Regions from separate parts of the Homo sapiens genome. Here region 2 is linked to region 1. The links are contacts of gene promoters, found by promoter capture Hi-C in human tissues and cell types (Jung and others, 2019). All regions are on one chromosome and are shown on one strand. The core of a region is centred on a gene start or on the middle of the fragment in contact, and the rest is flanking DNA. Distances in the headings are between cores, read along the strand shown. Region 1 holds the start of FOXJ1 (forkhead box J1). Region 2 overlaps GRB2 (growth factor receptor bound protein 2).

What was found. The method cuts DNA at HindIII sites, captures the fragments that hold promoters and counts their contacts. A contact is called where the count stands out against the background at its distance.
Region 2: a fragment that was not itself captured here is called in contact with the fragment with the promoter of FOXJ1 in region 1 in 2 of the 25 tissues and cell types used here (dorsolateral prefrontal cortex and pancreas).

The regions. Positions count from the first base shown.
Region 1 is chr17:76,137,534-76,145,246 of GRCh38, reverse strand. It overlaps FOXJ1 (forkhead box J1), which reads left to right and starts at 4,002. Exons shown (of 3, transcript NM_001454.4): 1 at 4,002-4,133; 2 at 4,683-5,349; 3 at 7,127-7,713. The coding sequence starts at 4,852. It overlaps RNF157 (ring finger protein 157), which reads left to right. Exons shown (of 19, transcript NM_052916.3): 19 at 1-2,773. The coding sequence ends at 12. RNF157-AS1 (RNF157 antisense RNA 1) reads right to left here and starts at 4,691. Exons shown (of 8, transcript NR_040017.1): 1 at 4,567-4,691; 2 at 1,899-2,017; 3 at 161-325. RefSeq lists enhancers at 1-414, 5,576-6,235, 6,898-7,557, 7,558-7,713 and silencers at 4,007-4,166, 4,845-4,914, 4,975-5,164. The HindIII fragment of the contact is 16,722 bases long and covers 1-7,713 here.
Region 2 is chr17:75,386,830-75,394,542 of GRCh38, reverse strand. GRB2 (growth factor receptor bound protein 2) reads left to right here. Exons shown (of 6, transcript NM_002086.5): 2 at 778-992. The coding sequence starts at 915. It overlaps LOC124904060 (a long non-coding RNA gene), which reads right to left and starts at 480. Exons shown (of 2, transcript XR_007065909.1): 1 at 112-480. RefSeq lists enhancers at 1-517, 460-559. The HindIII fragment of the contact is 6,103 bases long and covers 1-5,841 here.

The DNA of each region.
Region 1 (7,713 bases), core at 2,753-5,252:
TTGGCTGTCTGAGCCCCAGCCTCTGCACTTGGGCTCCCCTCCTGCCCTGCATTCCATCCATCCTCACTCAGCTGCTGCCTACTGGGCATCCTCAGCAAGATGCTGGAGACTTTTTACCCTCCTGTGACAGCTGTTACAACCTGTAACCACAATCCCTCACCTCTCAGAGGGAACTGGAACCCTCCTTTCTCCGTGTGACCTAAAGCCACTCAATGAACTGCAGCTCACGAGACCTTTTGCAGGGACTCTGGAATGTCCTCACGGTATATTGATGTTCAGGTGGAGCTGGGGTCCATGGGCTAATTTCTTACACATCTTTTTTCTCCTTAGGGGGTAGAACAAGAAGGCTTAGAGTTTGGCAGCTTTGTTACAAACATCCCTCTGGCATTTCCTGGTCTCTGGCACATCATAACCAATTGGAAACCTGCAGTTTGGGGTAGGGCTGGAGGATCGCTCCTGTGGAAAGGGAGAGCCATACTGCACGGACGTAGCGTTTCCCTCTACAAGCACTAGGAGCACCTTTCTCAAGGACAAGAAATGGTAGCAACCAAAAGGTTGGTTGAAGGAAACAATCCTTCCTTCTGGTGGCAGAGCCAGTCTTCTGGGCCTCACATGCCTGTGCGGTTAAGAAGGAGCTCTTGGCCGGGCGCGGTGGCTCACGCCTGTAATCCCAGCACTTTGGGAGGCCGAGGCGGGTGGATCATGAGATCAGGAGATCGAGACCATCCTGGCTAACACGGCGAAACCCCGTCTCTACTAAAAATACAAAAAATTAGCTGGGCATGGTTGCAGGCGCCTGTAGTCCCAGCTACTTGGGAGGCTGAGGCAGGAGAATGGCCTGAACCCGGGAGGCGGAGCTTGCAGTGAGCCGAGATCGCGCCAATGCACTCCAGCCTGGGCGACAGAGAAAAAAAAAAAAAAAGAAGGAGCCCTTGAATCTGAGAATCCCCCAGTTAAGATGATTTCCCTTAAGGAGCATTTCTCCTGATCAGGTGCATTCAGGGAGGCCTGCAACTCCATCCTAAGGTGACATTTCAAGAAACACATGTGTTGACCACCTCTGTGTGCCAAGCACTGGGTGAGGAGTGGTCGTATATTACCATAATTCATCCTCACTCAATTGGGAGGTGGCATTCTTGTCCCTGTTGCCCCCATCTCTACCCCCTTTTGTTAATGGTTGAGAGAAATGTGGACCAGTGATTCTCAGTTTGGTGCCCAGGTCCCCAAAGGAAGTGATGGAGAGCCTTGAGCTAAGTTCAGGCAGCAGCATGTGGCCAGCAGCAGTGTGCTGGGAGCAGAGGTTGGAATCAGGGCTCAGGGCCTTCACTTCAAGGGCCCTCCCCAGCTACTCGGGAGGCTGAGGCAGGAGAATCGCTTGAACTCAGGAGGTGGAGGTTGCGGTGAGCCAAGATCGTGCCACTGCACTCCAGCCTGGGCTACAAGATTGAAAAGATCGAAACTCTGTCTCAAACAAAAAAAAAAAAATTCAAGGCTGTTTCCAAGGCAGCCTCAAAAAGAGCCTGGTGCCCAGGGGGTCCTTCGTTTCTGTGTGGCTGCAGAGGCCAGGAGTGCAGTGACTGTCTCACTGCCTAGTGGTTGTGGCTCACATCCTGCCCTGATGGAGAGGGGGGCCTGTCGTCCAACCCTCTCTGAAAAACTGCAGTAGACTTTACCATTTCAGGCCCCACCTAATGTTCTTTCCTTCCTTCCCCCTACATTCTTCCCGCCCCTTTCATAGTTAAGATGCATAAGCTGAGCAATAACCCCACTTCCTGATTTCCCTGAAATATGAGCCCAGAAGCAGCAGGTGACAGGGAGCTTCCCTTACCCTGGGGTGGTGGCACACAGACCACCTCCTGTCCTGTCCCCTGCAGGTAGTATTCACAGTGTGGTGTTACCTGGGAGGAGGGAGGAAGGAGCTGAGATGAAGGAGATTCAGGTAAACAGTAGCCACAGTGGCCAGGACCCCCTTCCTGAGGATCCCTGTCCTTCCTCGCAGCAGGTGCTTAGTCCTCTCCTAGGGAGAAGCACGGAAAGATTCCTCAAGGCCTCAGTCCCATGTCCAAGGCATACCTAGGTTAGAAATGTCCTTTACTTGTTTCTCAGTTACTATTTCTCCTCTTCCTCCCTCCCCCTGCCTTCTCTTGGCTGTCATTTAGCTCTCTGGCCCACAGAAATACTCCATCCAAGGAGCTGGTCCTCAGTCAGCCTGATGAGGACAGGTCAGTGGCCAACCCTTTTGCCCCAGTCCTTCATCTGGAGACAGTCACATAGTCACGTCAACAGTTCACCCAAAGAGAAGAGGTGGGGCCTGGCTTCTCCCACAGGGCACAGCCTAACTATGGAGACCCAGGGCTCCTTCCTGCTGCACTAGGCCTGTGCTCTCCCTATTGCCTTCAGGTGGTGTGATCCCGGCTTCCTCACAGAGCCCTTTTTTCCTTCTGCCCAGCTCCATCCCACCAGAGTTTCTACCCCCGCTGAGGCATCTCCTGGGCACAGACCACCACACTCTAAGCCGGCTGGCCTGGGAGTTAGGGTCCTGCCCACCTCACCTGGGAGTTGGGGTCCTGCCCACCTGGAGTTTAGCACGCTGGTCGCTCACTTTGCTTTGGTCTGCACACCTGGTGTGTGCATGTGTATACTGCTTGTGCCATCTGTGTACCCCTCTCCCTGGAGTACACTTGTGGTCACACTACAGTGGGGACATCAAGAATGCAATATTTATGGATTGCTGCATGATTCTTAAAAATGAATAAAACTGTTTACAAGGGAAGGAGAGCTAACTGCAAAGTGAGCTTATCTGTGAAAGTTTCTGTCTGACTTTCGCCAGCACTCTTTAATACTTTTACTCAAGAGGATCTGGAGTTGGAGGAGTGGGAGAGGCAAGGGCTAGGGAAAGGCATGTTGGCGGGGGAGTGATGCGCCATAGCCGGGCCTTCTTCATGGTCTGGGCACCAGCCTCCCCGACCCCGGCTCTCCAGCTCCTGGGCAGAGGCGGGGTAATCAACCCAGCCCCCACCACTGCCTCTGCAGCCGCCTTAAACCGGAGAACGTCCAACCCTGCAGCTCCTCAATAATTAAAGAGCAGGAAAGCTGGTGACAGGAGGGAGGCCAGGGGAAGGGAGGAGGAAGGGACACAGTCCCCAGAGTCCCTCTACTCTTAATCCCTGTGACTTAAAGGTTGGTGAAATTAATTGGGCAAATGACCCCGCTAGGAGAATTTGACAAGTCCATGACTTCAGAGTTTTACCCACGGGCTCTGCTTCATCAGCTGTCTCCAGAGGAGTGAGTGCGCTTCTGCAGAAGCCTCTGGAATGTCAGCTTCCTGGAACCTCGAGGATACGGGTGGGGAAGGAGCTGCTTACTGGGACACACTGGATTACCCTACCCCCTTGGTGTGTCTGCCGCCTCTGTGGATGTAAGCGGCAGGTGGCATCGGAAAGTCAGACCTGCCTGGGACACCAGAGAAAGACCCTAAGAGTCGGGGGAGAGGGAAAGGCTGCAGAAACATGAGAAAGTGCCACTCGTAGCGGAGAGGAAAGAAAACCTCAAGGATACGGTTCCCGAGCCTGAGCCCGCTCCCAGCCTTAGCCCCCCAACCCCAGGCTCCGTCCCAGGAGCAGTCGACGCCTCAAAGCGTACGGGACAGGAAGGGGGTGGGGGCGAGAGTCTTGGTTCCCCAGAACGAACGGATCCATAGCGGTTCCCGGTGCCGCAGGCCGCGCGCTTCTCCGACCCCAGCGCGGGGCCCTCGGGCGGGAATGAGCCGAGCCGGGACTTAGCGGCGGGTAGGGGGTTGGGTGGCGCGGGAGAGGGCGGCAGAAGGAGGGAGTTCGAAGAGAGTTGCCGCCAGGGAGAGTGGCAAGTGCCCGCGGTCTCCTTGGAGACGTGCTGGCCAATGGCAGAGGCGGAAGCTGTTTATGGGGGCGGAGCGTCGCCATGGCAGCAGGAGAAGCCTTTGGAGCGGCTACTTAATGCCGGTCCCGGGGCCGCGGTAGCTCAGAGAAGCGCCGTCGGGCGGGGGGGCGGCAAGAGGCGCTGGCAGGGCCCCCGAGCTGGGGGCAGAGAGCCGCAGGGGGTGGGAGCAACTTCTTCCAGAACCTTCCTCTGGCCCGGGCTGCGCTCTGAGCCAGGTAAGGGATGGGGAGGGCTGCAGGCCAGGGGGAAGGGTGGGCAACGGTACCAACCCGCTCTCTCATTCGTCCTTAACGGAAGTGGTGGGCCCAGGGACTGACATCGGAGAAGTCTGGGGGAAACTCGCCTCCTGCCCCCCGTTACTGTTCCGTCCCCTTCCTTCCCAATGATCCCCTATCATAATATTCCTTTTCAAGGATCAGAGGACCTCCACCGCCCCCGCCCCGTCGTACCGCCCTCCCAAACTTCTCGCCCCACTTCCATTTGTTGCGAGGAGGAAGGGGGTCCTGATTTCCTGCTCTTCGGGAGAAAAGGATAGCCTCGGATGCCCCTACCCTCTTCATTTGGCTAATAAAACCTCGAAGAGGAAAGGAAGAGGGAGGCAGATCTGATGGGGGTGGGACCCCAGGGCCTTGCTTCTGTTTCCCATACCTCGGCACTAAAAGATCCTCCCCAGCTGCGGGGATGATGTTAGAGAGGGCGTCCCCGTACACACACTGTCCCCTCGGGGGTGGGGTAGTGCTCAGCTCCCACCGTGGTCCTCGCAGGCACCACATACTTATTCGGAGGAGGCGCCCCCGGGGTCGCGAGATGGAAGCGCGCGTCCGGGAGGCCGTGTAACGGGAGCTGCGGGACTCAGCGGGCCAGAGAGCGCGGCGGGCCACCCCCGGCTCAGCCCGTGGATGCTGACCGCCCCCTCGGAGAGTCCCCGCAGACATGGCGGAGAGCTGGCTGCGCCTCTCGGGAGCCGGGCCGGCGGAGGAGGCCGGGCCGGAGGGCGGCCTGGAGGAGCCCGACGCCCTGGATGACAGCCTGACCAGCCTGCAGTGGCTGCAGGAATTCTCCATTCTCAACGCCAAGGCCCCCGCCCTGCCCCCGGGGGGCACCGACCCCCACGGCTACCACCAGGTGCCAGGTTCAGCGGCGCCCGGGTCCCCCCTGGCGGCCGACCCCGCCTGCCTGGGGCAGCCACACACGCCGGGCAAGCCCACGTCGTCGTGCACGTCGCGGAGCGCGCCCCCGGGGCTGCAGGCCCCACCCCCCGACGACGTGGACTACGCCACCAATCCGCACGTGAAGCCTCCCTACTCGTATGCCACGCTCATCTGCATGGCCATGCAGGCCAGCAAGGCCACCAAGATCACCCTGTCGGCCATCTACAAGTGGATCACGGACAACTTCTGCTACTTCCGCCACGCAGATCCCACCTGGCAGGTAGAGGAGGCACGGGCGGCGGCCGCTCCCTCCCCATTCCCTCCTCGCTCCCCACGCTGCACTGGATTCATATCCCAAATCTGCAGGCCAAGTAGGCTCTGCGGTGCGGCCAGCGCCCCAGAAGGGAGCCCTGCAAAGGAGCCCAGTTCTTGCAACTGCCCCTCCTTTGACTTCCAGAGAGAGAGAGAGAGAGAAGGGAGAATGTCCAGAGGTGGAGGGCTTTAGGGGTGCAGAGGCTGAGATTCAAGGGGAAATAACCTGCCATTCATCCAGCAGGCCCAGGCCAAAGACCAGGGCTAGACTCTGCGTGGACAGAATCTCCTTGGGGAGAGCGATGAACTGAAGGCGCATTCTTGTCCCAAGTCCTAGAATTCCTAGACACTGCCCTGCCCCGGGATGGTTTGTCGGGGCCGGGAGTCAGAAACGGAAACTGGAACGTGGCCTCCCTGCCAGGCTCTACGTCCTGCCCTTTTGCAGTTGGCTTGGGGAGGGTGGAATGGAAGGGGTGCCTTAGCATGTGAGGGCCAGGTGTGTCCCAATGGAGGGTGGAGGGGGTAAGGGGCCTTCCTAAAGCTGCTGTCCCAGCCCCCCACCTCAACCTCTGCTCAGTTTCCTGCCTCCAACCCCCGCTGTCAGCCAACCTCCCTGGGGGGACAATTACCTGAGCCAGGTGCCTTCCACTGGGGCTCTGCCTACCACACTCACTTCGTGTTCCACGTCTCTGGAACCAGGCACTGAGCAGCCAAGGGGCCCAGGCCACCATGTAAACATCCCAGCCTTGCTGCCGGGCATTATCCACCCACCTGCCCTGCCGTCCCAGCCCAGGACCCCTGTCCCCCAGCAGGCTTTGGACAAGATTAAGCACCTAAGAATGGACAAGGCAGGAGGATGGTGGATTTGAGGCTGGGTAGGCAGTGCCCTAAGAGTCTTCAGCCATCACCATCAAGGGCTAGTTGGAGTCAGGGGCCCCCCAAGGACGCCCAGACTCTTCCCTGAAGCACCCAAAGCGGGCAGGCCACAGGACCGCAGTCCCAAGCCATTTCCAATGCCCCTGACCCTAGAGCAGGGTCATTTGCAGCTGCACCGAAAAAGCAGAGACCCTCAGCCCCACCCTACCCTAAGCCTGTGCAGCTGCGCTTCGAGAAACGGGCCCCAGGAATGAGTGCTATGCTCTTAGCTCTTGGCTGGGTAATAATCAACTGAGCCTGGAGTGGGGGGAGGGGGCCGTGGGGGGTGAAGGCCCAGGCCAGCAGCCGGCTCAACAAACAAGGAAAGTCATCAGATCCCCCACCTCTCATCCCTGCGCGCTCTCTCTCTCTCTCCCCCTTCCTCTCCACTCTCGGCTGCCCAGCCCCCTCCCTGGACCCACTCACTCACAGAGAGGGCCAGCCAGGCCCAGGCAAAGGGAGACGGTGGTCCAGGCCCTGGGGGAGCCGAGGGCTTTGGCCAGAGGCTGTCAGCGGCAGGGTGAGGGAGGGAGGGCAGGCGACGGGGGTGGCACCGAGAGCCACCCTGCGGCTCAGAGCTCGGATGACTGAGCAGGCAGATATCCCGGCAACAGGGAACAAAAGCCTCCGACAGCACTCCGGGCTCCCAGTGCCCTGTGGCTGGTGTCCCAGAGCTGCAGCCGCCTGGGCAGACCAGTGTGTCTGTCCCCCCCTCCTCTCCCCTGCCAGAGAAAAGATGGGGGGTGCGCAGCAGCGCCAGGTGCCATTTCATCTCCCCGTCCCCACTGACCTAGCGGTTCCTCTCTCTCTTGCTCTCTCCCTGCACCCAGAATTCAATCCGCCACAACCTGTCTCTGAACAAGTGCTTCATCAAAGTGCCTCGGGAGAAGGACGAACCAGGCAAGGGGGGCTTCTGGCGCATTGACCCCCAGTACGCGGAGCGGCTACTGAGCGGCGCTTTCAAGAAGCGGCGACTGCCCCCTGTCCACATCCACCCAGCCTTTGCCCGCCAGGCCGCGCAGGAGCCCAGCGCTGTCCCCCGGGCCGGGCCGCTGACGGTGAATACCGAGGCCCAGCAGCTGCTGCGGGAGTTCGAGGAGGCCACCGGGGAGGCGGGCTGGGGTGCAGGCGAGGGCAGGCTGGGGCATAAGCGCAAACAGCCGCTGCCCAAGCGGGTGGCCAAGGTCCCGCGGCCCCCCAGCACCCTGCTGCCCACCCCGGAGGAGCAGGGTGAGCTGGAACCCCTCAAAGGCAACTTTGACTGGGAGGCCATCTTCGACGCCGGCACTCTGGGCGGGGAGCTGGGTGCACTGGAGGCCCTGGAGCTGAGCCCGCCTCTGAGCCCCGCCTCACACGTGGACGTGGACCTCACCATCCACGGCCGCCACATCGACTGCCCTGCCACCTGGGGGCCTTC
Region 2 (7,713 bases), core at 1,541-4,040, 750 kb after region 1:
GGGACCCCAGAGTCTTGGGGATCTGCCGGGGAAAGGGAGCCTTATGCAAGAGCGTCATCCCCACCATTTCCACTGGTACACAGCTTGGAGCTGTGATCTTTCTCTGGTTACCTGAGCTTGCCGATCACAACATGGAAGTGCAGGGGGAAAGCCGCCGGTGCTTGTAGCAGTAAATGGATTGAAAAAGCAGTTCCTACATTTACTTTCTCCTGCTCTCCTGGGAGCAGATCATGGTTTAGTTTCGAGAAGAGTGCAGCAGCTCGAGACCAAAGAGTTTTGCTTTGCTTGCTCTTGACTGTGCAGTAGGGAAGCCAGCATTCTCAGAAGACCAGAAAGGATGGCGGTGGGGAAGGGAGGGAGACAGGCCTGTTTAACCGAGAAGAGACAGGTGCCATCCCCAGGGTGAGGCCTTCCTTTCAGTGGACCGTATTTGGTGCTGGAGAAGAGCCTGTGAGGAGTAAAGGAGGAAAGGCGGAGACTGAGTGGGACTCCAGCCGGTTCCTGCACGCAGTGCACACCCAGCGGGAAGGAAGAGGAAGTGTGTTCAGGAATAGCTCAGGCAGCTGTGCCATTGGCCGGCAGGCCTGTCAGTCGCCTGGGGGCCGAGGCTGAAAAGAGGAAGAAGTCGGCGGGGGGGGGCTGTTGCCTGGAAGGGAGGGAGGAGGGCTGAGCCAGGCCGAGCCAGGGGGCGTGGGGGCTGGGACAGCAGGCCGATTGGCAGGGCGGGGTTGCCTTCAATCCTGGCCACTGCTCTTAATCGTCCCTCTCCTGCTTCAGGGTGGCATTGTGTGTCCCAGAGTGCCGGAGCGAGTCCCAGAAGAGAGGCGAGGCTAAGCCCAGAGCGCTGGGTTGCTTCAGCAGGGAAGACTCCCTTCCCCCTGCTTCAGGCTGCTGAGCACTGAGCAGCGCTCAGAATGGAAGCCATCGCCAAATATGACTTCAAAGCTACTGCAGACGACGAGCTGAGCTTCAAAAGGGGGGACATCCTCAAGGTAAGTGCTGATGCCGAGCACAATGCTGAGATCGCTCTCCCTGTGCTCACCCACCTTCTTTCGCCCTGATTACACACAAAGAAGCTGTGTTTTTCATTGTACACTTTTAACATTTACCATCATATTTGTTCTGGAGAGCTTTAGATGCTGAGTAGAATATTAAATATGACTTAAGTGAGTTGGTGTGATGTGTGGTGTTTAACTGCCTTTGTGTGAATGCCTCATTTGTCTGTTGATACTGGTAATATTTCAAGTAAAGTCAAAGTAATGTGATTGTAGAAAGGAAGTATATGAGTAGATTGATTTGCCCTGTAGAGTTTTATTTTAAAAATAGCATTTTTTAAAAAGACCCAGACCTGAAGTATTTATGTAAAAGCATTCAGTTAGTCTTACTTTGTATAGCCAAAGGATTTTGCGTTCTGGAATATGATTTTGGTAGGTTAGAAATTAATTTTCCCAGTTTAGAGAGGTTGTTAGAAGTACATACCAAAACTCATTAAAGAACTTCAGTGTATTTTTATTCTTTGTGAAAAAACAAATGGAGTTCTAAATAATAAGGTGCAACCTGCTATTGTACAAGTCAGATTTCGACTTTCTTAAAAGAAACTTGAGGAGCAATTACCCCATATTAAACTCTAATTGCACGAAAAGAAACCTGCTGACAGTTTAAAAATCAGCTTCTATACCATGTGCAGCTTATTTTGAGCCCCACTATTTATGTGAGGATTCGCTCTCCCCCAGCACATGTTAATTATGTTGTTTACCCAATTGACTGTAGCAGTTTGCTCTTTTGGATGTGTAATTTATTTTAACGAGGATGAGTGTTATCAAAGAGTATGTTAACTTTAAAGGAGGAAAGGCTGAAGCTTCATGTTTGAGTGTTCCCTGTGTCTCAAGTTTTGACATTTTTCCTTCTGAGCCTTAGACTGATTGTTGGAATTTGCTACCTCATTTGTTTACTACCCCTGAATGAAATTCTTAGAATTTTATGAAGAGAAAGCAAGTGGAGATGTAGAAATATGGTTCTTTATAAAAGGACGTGCAGTCTTTTTACTTTTAAGTTATGTGGACTTATTGATAGTCTTTATTTTGCCCTCATTGCCCAAGGCGTAGAGTTCTACTCTGAAGTTAACTGCCCAGTAATTTCTTAATGTTAGAAATGTAGGTTGAGCCTCATAGAAGATGATGCTGCAGAGCCCTTTAAAGAGAAGAAAACTTTGTGTCTGTGTGTTCATTTCAAAGCTGTGTTTGTGACACCACACTTTTCGAGGGTATTCTCAAAGTCAACACTAAATTGTCAGAAAGCAGACGGAACCATTTTCTAGAAACTAGGTTTCTATTTTCTTGAACTAGAGAAAATATGCCCAGCTAGAGATCAGGGCAAAGTTAACTTAGACTACAAAATTCCTCAGTTTTCATTGGTGTATGGGAGAGGTAATTTGATGTTTCTGTAGGTGATTACTGTTTTCTGTAGATAACCCACTTGTGATGGTATAAGATGGGCTACTCAAATGCCCACATCTATAGCCTGTACAAAAGCCCTTTTGGGCTAGTATTTTTTGTTTTTGATACAAACTTAGATTTTTTCATAAGTTTATCTTAGAAACTTGAACCTAGAAGGCTGGTGGTTCATATTTTTCTCTAAATCTGTCCCATTGCACATTAAGCACTGAAGCAACAAATTAAAACAAAACTAGGGGCATGCGGTCTCTTTTTAAGAATTTTTTTTTTTTTTTTTTTTTTGAGATGGAGTCTCGCTCTGTCACCCAGGCTGGAGTGCGGTGGTACAATCTGGGCTCACCGCAAGCTCCACCTCCCAGGTTCATGCCATTCTCCTGCCTCAGCCTCCCGAGTAGCCGGGACTACAGGCGCCCGCCACCACGCCCGGCTAATTTTTTGAATTTTTAGTGGAGATGGGATTTCACCATGTTAGCCAGGATGATCTCAATCTCCTGACCTCGTGATCTGCCCACCTCGGCCTCCCAAAGTGCTGGGATTACAGGCGTGAGCTACTGCACCCAGCCTTTTTTTAAAATTTTTAAACAAGAACTTTCCCTGATTTCTGTCTTTGAAGTTTGTCCTAGACCTAGACCATGAACATTTTATAAATTCTTTAACTTAAATTAGTAAATTCTGGAGCAAGTGTAAAAACCTTCTTTCCCATCCTATTATTAGGGAAGAAGATCCTGTTTAACAGTCCCTCAGAAATTTTTATTATGGAGGAGAAAGTAAATCAGAATACTCACATTCACTTTTAGATTTTCTTTGAGGAGAGAGAAAAATACATATATGTGGTTCTTTTCAATTTGGTAGATAACTGAGATATGAAGTCATAATGCCATTATTGCTTTTGAACGGTGGCCATTAGCTGTTTGTTGGTAATGTTGTGGCTTTACTCCAAAAGAAAAAAAAAAGAGTGACGATACAGTAGTTGCCCTTTGTCTCATAACTGTGTGAAATGGCTGGGTGAAGAGGAGGAACATGCTTTCTTAAAAGCTGTTAGTTAAAAAAACGGAGTTTTCCTCATTTGATTCTTCAAGAAGTAAACTGGCTTCATTTGAATTGCTTTGATTTGGGACGTCTTGAGGGTATTAGTTGTAAGCCAAAACATGTTTTAAAAGTTGCTGGAATAGCATTGAACAATTTAACTTTCATTGAAATAGGCATATATATGCCTTCTCTTGATAAAGGAGACGTGCATATGGATATTGAATAAGTTTCATTTCAAGATAATGAAATAGGCACTTAGCCTTCATCCTCTGTCTATAGTTCAGAAGGATCACATCTTCTCCTGTCTTGGAGTTCCTGGTTAACTTTTAGTTAAAAATGGTGACTCCTCTCCTCCAGCAGACCCCTTCCCTACTTTCTGTCTACACATTGACCTGTTACTGTCCAGAGAAAAAGAGGAAAAAATAAAAGCATTTTACTGGAAGCCTAAAATAGAGTTGAATGGTTCAATATGTCTGCCTTTGTTTCTCTCTCTTATAAAAGCTTGTGTTTTTCTTGGCTCGGGGAGGGAGAGGACACTGGGATGTAAAATAGAAGGAATTGCCCTTCCACTGCAGGTTTCAGGCCTGGTGTGGTTGGAATACATCAGAATTCCTCCCACCATTGTAGGGCAGGCTTGAGACAGTCCCAGAGGTTCTCCACTGACAAGACCCCTAAATAGTCTACACTAGAGCACATAAAACTTACCTAGGAGTTGCAACTGCCATTTAGGGGCTTATGTATACATACTTCAAACTGTGCTTATAGGAATTAAGAGACCCATTTTGAGCTCTCAGATCTGTGCTCATTCCATTCTAGAGCCAGCCTCTTGCTTTCTTCAGCTCTAGTGGAGAGCCAGCCTGGATCATCTAGGTGTATTCTACCCTCTCTGGCACTAACTACCTTTACCAGTTTCTTAAACTACTTTAAAAACAGGTCTTGAGTTCACATTGAGATCTTCAAAGCATTCTGTCTCAGCACTGCCTGGCCTATTTCAGTGTCACACTGACTGAGCATCTCTTGAGCCAGATACTGGGATAAGTTGCTTTGAGAGTTGGGAGAGAAATATAAGATGTACTTTCTCCCTTCAGAAGCTCCAAAATCTCAAGTAAGAGAATTGAGATTAATATGTGAAACAGTACAAGATGGTATATAAAAATTTTTTTAGAACAGGAAAAGATCTTTTAAAATTTATTTTTATTTATTTTTTTATTTTTTTGAGATGGAGTCTCGCTCTGTCACCCAGGCTGGAGTGCAGTGGCGCGATCTCGGCTCACTGCAAGCTCTGCCTCCCGGGTTCACGCCATTCTCCTGCCTCAGCCTCCCAGTAGCTGGGACTACAGGCACCCACCAGCACGCCCGGCTAATTTTTTGTATTTTTAGTAGAGACGGGGTTTCACCATGTTAGCCAGGATGGTCTCGATCTCCTGACCTGGTGATCCGCCCGTCTCGGCCTCCCAAAGTGCTGGGATTACAGGCGTGAGCCACCGCGCCCGGCAAGATCTTTTAAAATTTCTTAAGTTAGACTTACTCTTTTACAGATGAGGAAATGGTGGCCCATATAGGTTAAATGATCTATCCAAGATCACACAACTATCATTCTTGGTAGTGATTTGTAGTAGTGATTCTTAGTAGTATTTGATGGTATACTTGAGTCGGGTTGCACACTGTAACTGCTAGAGTCGTTCAGGAAGGATGAAACTGGCAAGCGCTGACATCAGTCAGGTGTGTGCAGAGTTGTGACTTGAACCTTGTAGGAGAACAGGACGTGTAGGTTAAGAGAAGGAGGACATTTCAAGGGAGACGAAACTTGTGCTTGTTGTGTTTGAGATAGGAAGGCTGGAATAAGAATCTAGACTGACATAGTGGAAAATAAGGTAGAGTTGGAGCGAGGTGAGAAAAGCCCAGTAAGAGTTTGATCTGGTCCTTAAGAAGCCTCGGAAGGTTTTTAGCGATGAAGAGCATTGTGTGTGTGTGTATAAAGAATTGCAAGGGGGCAAGGCTGGGGCCCCAAGCCTGGATGGTGGCAAGTAATCGGGTTGTGTGTCAAGTGTCTGTATCAACCTGGGATACTAGAAATGAAGGAGGGGAGTGGTTTGAAAGATACTGAAAGCAAGAATCATGGGATTTCTGCCTGTCAGATAGGGGCATTTTAATAAGTCTCCTAAGAAAGGAATGCCCTTTGATTATGATCCTCAATGGAGAAGATCAGTGGAGAGCCAATCCCTAGTTTGGTTGGTTAGAGTTTTCACAAGTTATAAGTCCTGAGTTTCAGTGCACAAGTCCCATTTCAGGGGTTCAAATTACCTAATCTAAATAAAAAGCCAGGCATGCTCGTGCAAGCCTGAAGGCCCCACCTGCTCATGAAGCTGAGAGAGGAAGATTGCTTGAGCCCAGGAGTTGGAGCCCAACCTGGGCAACAAAGCGAGACCCCATCTCCAAATTAAAAAAAAAAAAAAGTGTTTTTCTTCCCCCCCCCCACTATTTTAAAGTCCTAGTATCAGTATACTCTGTAGAACCATTTATTTTTTCCTCCCAAAGTGCTGGGATTACAGGTGTGAGCCATTGCACCCAGCCTTTGCCTTTTGGTAAGAATTCTTATCAATCTTGTTGACTAAACCAGAATATTGCATTTAATCTTTAAGAAGGAGGTTAGTTTGTGGTCAGGCGTGGTGGCTCACGCCTGAATCCCAACACTTTGGGGAGGCCGAGGCGCATGGATCATTTGAGGTCAGGAGTTCGAGACCAGCCTGGCCAACATGGTGAAACCCCATCTCTACTAAAAATACAAAAAACAGCCGGGCCCGGTGGTGCGCGTGCGTACCTGTAATCCCAGCTACTCGGGAGGCTGAGGGAGGAGAATCGCTTGAACCCGGGATGTGGAGGTTCCAGTGAGCCAAGATTGTGCCATTCCACTCCAGCCTGGGCAACCGAGAGAGACTCCATCTCAAAAAAACAAAAACAAAAAAGGAAGGGAGCAGTTTGTTGTTTGAGTGCTCTTAAAGCAAATAATCTGCTTGCTTTTTATTATATTCATTTTGTCAGCTGAATGGACTATTTCCAAATAGGTGCTGAGAATGAACTTTCATTTCCTATAAAAGATTCTTTTTGGGAGACTGGCTGAAGATGATTCTTCCTCCTGTTTGGAGAAAGAAATGAGTAAGGAAATGTAGTATTCCTTCAGAATCTTTCAGTTTCACCTCTAAACCATATGGTAGAATTGCTTCTAAGTTGTTGGGTTTGTTTTTTTGTTTTGTTTTTTTTTTTAGGCGAAGTCTCACTCTGTCGCCCAGGCTGGAGTGCAATCGCACGATCTTGGCTTGCTGCAACCTCCACCTCCTGAGTTCAAGTGATCGTCCTGTCTCAGCCTCCCGAGTAGATGGGATTATAGGCGCCCGCCACCACACCTGGCTAATTTTTTGTATTTTTAATAGAGATGTGGTTTTATCATGTTGGCCAGGCTGGTCTTAAACTCCTGACCTCAAATGATCCACCTGCCTCGGCCTCCCAAAGTGCTGGGATTACAGGTGTGAGCCACCATGCCCAGCCTACTAAATTATAGATCATTTCTAATCTTGAATGCTGAAATATTGACTTTTTTTTTTTTTTTTTAAGACAGAGTCTCCCCCTGTCACCAAGGCTGGAATGCAGAGGTGCCATCATAGCTCACTGCAACCTCTGCCTCCCAGGCTCAAACGATCCTCCCACCTCAGCCTATAGCTGGGACTACAGGCACGTGCTACCACACCCTGCTAATTTTTGTACTTTTAGTAGAGGTGAGTTTCACCATGTTGGCCAGGTTAGTCTCGAACTCCTGGCCTCAAAATATCTACCCACCTTGGCTAGGATTACAGGCTTGAGCCACCGTCCTGGGCAAGATTGGCACTCTTTTTTTTTTTGAGATGGAGTCTCGCTCTGTCCCTCAGGCTGGATGGAGTGCAGTGGTGGGATCTCAGCTCACTGCAAGCTCCGCCTCCTGGGTTCATGCCATTCTCCTACCTCAGCCTCCCGATTAGTTGGGACTACAGGCACCCGCCACCACACCCAGCTAATTTTTGTGTGTGTGTGTTTTTAGTTAGCCAGGATGGTCTCTATCCTCTGACCTCGTGATCTGCCCCTCTCAGCCTCCCAAAGTGCTGGGGTTACAGGCGTGAGCCACCGCGCCTGGCCAAGATCGGCATTCTTAACCCCATTTTATGGGTGCAGAAACAGGCTCAAAGCTTAAGAAACTTGC